Linked DNA regions of Homo sapiens: region 2 is linked to region 1. Evidence: promoter capture Hi-C in human tissues and cell types (Jung and others, 2019). All regions are on one chromosome and are shown on one strand. The core of a region is centred on a gene start or on the middle of the fragment in contact, and the rest is flanking DNA. Distances in the headings are between cores, read along the strand shown.

Region 1 (2,700 bases), core at 163-2,662:
ATCATTTAGATAATTGATTTATATTTTCCATGTGTACTATGAACTATGGAACTTAACCTTTCCTCCCTCACATCACATTTTCTCATTACCTTGAACAATCATTGGTATTTTTAAATTTTGACCTGATCCTTTTTAGCCTTTATGTTTCCAGACTACAGCACGCAATTACAGAGTAAAGTAATTGAATCTTAACACCCTTGAGGGTGTCTCCAGGGCATCCCAAAATCTGACGCAGGCATCCCTTTTATAACTGCCCCTGTACCCATACCTTCCCCTTTCTTTCAGCCAGGTGGAGTTTGTGTAAATAAACTCAACCCTTTTGAGGGGTGGATTTTAGGGATGCAGTTCTATTGTTTTGACAAATGTATACAGTTGTGTAACTACCTCTATAATCAAGATTAGAACAGTCCCACTGCCCCCAAAAGTTTTAATTTATTGATCCATTTATCAATTGATGGACACTTGAGTTGTTTCCAGTTTTTGGCAATTATTTGCGTTAGTCTTTTGCTTTTTTTGGGTGGGGGATCAGAGAGAGTGGAGCACAGAAGTGTCATCCCCTTCTTCCACCATCTAAGTCTTTTGGGGCTTTTCACCAGTGCCCTCTGGAAGCAAGTGCATTGGTGCAGCTATATTTTTTGCATTTGGGTATCTGCCTTTCATGACCTTTTCCTTTTTTTAATTTTATTTTTTCCAAATTGGGTCCCAAACGTTCAACAGGTCAAGGTGGACACTATGCAGACAAAATAACTCATGTGGTCCACGCTGTGTGCATGGTAGGTGTCAGCTGCTCTTACCGGTGGCTCCCGGATCATCAGCCTTGGAATCAGCCACCATGTTGTTAAAAATGCAGAATCTCAGGCTCCACGCCAGATCTACTGAACCAGAGTCAGTATTTTAACAAGATCGTCAAGTGTGCCGGATGCATATTAAAGTTTGAGAAGCACTGGTATTCCACACTCGCTACTAAAAATATACTACAATTTTCTCATAAGATTTGACCCTTTATTTTAACTTTTTCTCTCTCGGTAGTAAACTCACTTTGTAGTTTGAGTAAAGAACTCAAGTTTTGGTCTGGGCGCTGCATCTCGCTGGGTGTGGAAGCAAAGGCAGAAATGAGAGGGACAAAAGGAAGCAGAGAACAGAGCCCAGGCTGTTAGAAGATCCTCGCGGCCAGACCTGGGAGGCTGAAAGGCTGAGAGACCGAAAGGCTGAACCCTCCGCCGCGCTCGGCGGCCCCTCGGAGTCAGGACACCCAGGGTAACATGCGGGTGGCCACGCGCAGCCCAGGCGCTTGCAAAACTTAGCGGAGCCGGGCCGGGGCCGGGCCCGGGGAAGGCGGGAGGGAGGAGGGCCAGGCGGGAGGGCGGGGACGGCGCGGCGAGGGGCGGGGTCAGCGCCGAGGCCGCGGGGGCAGCAACGACGCCGGGCAGCGGGAGCGGCGGCCGCGCCATGTGGCTGCTGGGGCCGCTGTGCCTGCTGCTGAGCAGCGCCGCGGGTGAGTCGGGGGGCGGCCGGCGAACTTCCCGCGGGGCGCGGGGCGCGGGGCGCGGGGCGCAGCGGCCGGGTGCGATCGCGTCCTCTCCCGGGCGCGGGCCGCTCTCCGGGCGTGGGTGAGCGCGGAGGGCGGACCCCGGCGCCGGGCTGGCCCGGACCCTGCCGAGGGGCCGCCGCGGGGTGCGAGCCGTCCTATTGTGTGGGCGTGCGCGCCGGGTCGTGTTGTGCTGTGTGCGCGGGCGGGGCTCTGTGTGCAGTCCGGGTCTGGGGAGCCCGGCGGCTGCCCCGATTGGGCGTAGCTCGAGTGTGGCTGTGTGTGTGTTGTGTGTGTTGAGGAACGGAGGCGGGGAAAGGAAAGGAGAGGAGAGGAGAGAACTCTTCCCTGGTCTCATCTTCCCAGACGCCTGGTCGCGCGCGGCTGCGTTAGCCTCCTCTGGGCCTCTTCCCGAGTCTCTGGCGTGCACTCCGTGCCTCAGTTTCCCCACCTGCACCGCGGAGGGAGTAGCAAAGCTGCTTCCTTTCATTCCTCTCTGGGACTGTTTGGTTTGGGTAAAGTGAGTTGAAGCAAGGCCGGATCTGGGAATTCATTTTTCCCCACTGATCCTGGGAACCGAAGCTTTATTTAAGACGTCTGACCACCCTACTTGCCCCGCGATGGGCGCCCTGACCGGCGAGGGGCCCTGGGAGAGGACACGGGGCTTCATCCGGCGGCCCTTTGAACCTGGCATCACCACCGCGTGTGCATCCCGGGGCCTGGACCGCAGCAAGCCTCTTTCCCTTCCAGACAGCGTGCTGTTCCCAGGAACTTTTCTGCTGATGTGGGCATGATCCGAATTCCAGCCTGGGAGCCCTTCCTCCTCTGCCCCTGCCCGCCGCCCACAGCTGTCAGCTGTCCCTCCTGGACTGGGCCCGCCCTTGGCCCCTTGACGTTTATTTCTGGGCATCTGATGCCTAGAATGTGGGTGACAGGGCCCAGTGAACTTTCTTCAGCAGAATCTTGCCTGCCTGGTGTTTGTGCCATCCACATGTCCAATAGCTGCCCTATTTTGCCAAGTGCTTCTAGCAGCTTGGCTGTCGAGGTGTCTTTGGTGGCCTGTGGGTTTGCTAAGTTGAGGCTCACTTCATTCTTAGCTGTGCCTTGGAGTTATGAATGCGTTAAAGGGATATCTCCTCTCTTCCTTGATGTCCCTGGTCCTGGGCATCCTC
Region 2 (2,805 bases), core at 36-2,535, 140 kb before region 1:
GGCTCAGGTGGCCAGCTTTTATTCCCTTATTTGGCCCCACCCACATCCTGCTGATTGTTGTGCTTACAGTCCTTTAGCTAGACACAGAGCACTGATTCGTGCATTTTTACAGAGTGCTGATTGGTGTGTTTACAATCCTTTAGCTAGACACAGAGCACTGATTGGTGCGTTTTTACAGAATGCTGATTGGTGCATTTACAATCCTTTAGCTAGACACAGAAAAGTTCTCCAACTTCCCACTCGACCCAGGAGGTCCAGCTGGCTTCACCTCTCAGTACCGGGCATCAACCCAGTATTTGGGCCCAGCCAGAAAGAGGTGAAAGGACTTGGAACATTTAGGCCATCCTTCAGATTGTGGTGATGGGATAGAGAGGGGCACAGGAAGCAAAGAGAGACAGCTGTATGAATGAGAGCAAATTAATTAGCTCAGCAAGTCTATATGTTGGAGGGAAGCTTTCTTAGTTTTTGTCTGGTTTGGAGTTTTCCTAAACTTTGCTTAAAATGCAAGGCATCCTAATTTCCCAGATAAGGATACTGGGTCCTAGAGTCACACAGCAGAACCAGGACTAGAACTCTGGTATTTTCATCATGTTTTTCTCAGTTAGCCCAAAATAGACCAAGGACATTTTACTTTATTTTGTAAAGTTCAGATCCCTTAAAGCACAGTAACCTCCTTATTTTCAGCTCAGGCTGTTGGGGCAGGTGAGTGTGGGACAGAGGGGACAAAGAAGGCAACTCGCTCTGTCTAGTAAAGAAAGGTCCCTGGATCCGAGTGTTTAGTCTGTCTCCCCAGCAGTGCTGATCGCATATTTACTGCAACTAGGCAACCACTTCCTCAGATACTGAAAGTGTGAGACTTCCCAATTGGCTCCTTGTACAATGCCCAGGCAGTGTAATTTTTGGAGAATATTAAATCTATCTTTTTGAATTTCAGCTGACTCTAGCCTTCGTTCCTTGTCAATACCTCTTAATTCCACCATCCTCCTGAGTTAAATAATCCTTTTACAGCAATAATCAATTAATAGATAACCAAGAACTCAGAAGACATGAGTGATGCCAAGTCACATTAAGTTGTACTATATGCTTAGGAAAAGAAACTATTAAACTTGCAAAGTCAGAATGCCTGCTACCTGATTTATTAACTTCCCCTTTATGCCCCTAAAGCTCTGGGGACAGAAGCCAAAAAGCTAAGCTGCCTATATATGCAGCCTAACTAAAAAATGGTCACAGTGAAACACTGTAAAATGATTATGATAAAATATAATCATTTTATCAGCAGGTGTTTAGGGTCTGAATGTGGAGCTTATGGCATGCCTCTGACATTTCAGTTTCACAGGCACCACATCAGACAGTAAGCCCAACTCAGAGAAGGGATACAGCATTCTGCTTACTGGAATGCCTTAGTCTCATTCTGTCACCCCATCCCCTACCCACAACCAAGAAAGTGTTAAATTTCACACCATCCTCCTGGTCAGAATTTAGGAGCTCCCAGTTCCTTTAGCTAAACTTTTTTGTTTTACATCCCCTAAAAGAAATTTTAAAAGTATGTGCCTTTTTGCCCGTTTTTAAATTAATTCCTGAAATCATAGTATCAAGTGTAAATCGTTGCTAAGGGTGTGCTCACTGACATATTGTGTAGTTTATATGAGTTTTTATATATATTTTTGTCAAAACTTTGGCACTGTGAATTTAGCTTATTAAATTTACAAGCAAAGGTGCACTATATAATCTAATTGGCAAAGCCAATTTTGGTGGTCAAACCATCCAGCCAAATCAGACTTGCTTTCTGTCAGATTAAGTCTGATTTCATTTTTTTCAATACAAATAAACATTAGCACACACCTCATGATAACCACCTCACTTTTGAATTTGAAGTGTTAGATCGATGGATAGATAGATAAAACACACAGCCTTGCCAAGAGTTTCCTGCCTGAATGAAAAAAGAGATTGTCTCCTTTACTATTGCTTGCGGTTCTCTCATAGGACTCCTCTAAGGGAGACATTCTAAAATTGTTACATGCTAAGATTCAGAAGGGTGAGTGAGAGTAGCATTTCTGCGGAAGTGTGGGAGTATGGTGATCTGTAAAGTGGGAGTGGCTGAAACAAGAACCTTACAGAGCACAGGCATGTTTCTGAGAAGGTAAGTTTTAGGAAGCAGTATATATGGAAGTTAAGGATTTGGACATTAATTTTCTTAAAACTACCCAGGCCCAAATACTTCCTGGAAAGTAATTACATACCACAAGGGTATCCATACCCCAGTTTTAAGGCCACCACTTTTAGATACAGCAGTACCCTCAAACTAGATCAGTGACCGAGCTAAGGCCGGTTAACTAAACTTCACTCCGTATTTGTTCTCCCCAGTGTTTGGCAGGCATGACTTTTCTTGAGACCTGCCACCTAGAAGGGTCAGAGTGATACTCAGCCTTTCTAGTTAGTACCTGTATTTCATTAGGTCTGGGTTGTCATTTAAAAAACTCTCCAAGTGAGCAAAGCAGGATACTGTTGCTCTCCAGATATTTGAAGGGTATTTGGGGATAGGAACACACTTGTTCTGGAATGTAATGTTTCAGCTGCCAGAGCTAGGAACATTTGAGGGAAAGGCAGGAGGAGGCAGGTTTTTATTCAGGATAAGAAGGAAGGTGGGTTGAGGAAGAAGGGTAACATTTTTTATCATTTGTATTGCATAAAATACATAAAGCTTTCACAGTAACCCTGGAAGATAGCATTTCGATGAGGAAACTGAGATTCAGAGATGTTAGTGACTTACGTAAGATCCCACAGTTTATTAGTTAATAACAGGCA

Evidence for each region. The method cuts DNA at HindIII sites, captures the fragments that hold promoters and counts their contacts. A contact is called where the count stands out against the background at its distance.
Region 2: a fragment that was not itself captured here is called in contact with the fragment with the promoter of LDLRAD3 in region 1 in 1 of the 25 tissues and cell types used here (mesendoderm cells).

Annotation. Positions count from the first base shown.
Region 1 is chr11:35,942,650-35,945,349 of GRCh38, forward strand. LDLRAD3 (low density lipoprotein receptor class A domain containing 3) reads left to right here and starts at 1,413. Exons shown (of 6, transcript NM_174902.4): 1 at 1,413-1,495. The coding sequence starts at 1,450. RefSeq lists a silencer at 1,324-1,763. The HindIII fragment of the contact is 6,577 bases long and covers 1-2,700 here.
Region 2 is chr11:35,800,357-35,803,161 of GRCh38, forward strand. The region is part of intron 4 of TRIM44 (tripartite motif containing 44); the gene reads left to right. Among named protein-coding and RNA genes, the nearest start is that of TRIM44, 140 kb to the left of the region's middle. The HindIII fragment of the contact is 4,427 bases long and covers 1-2,805 here.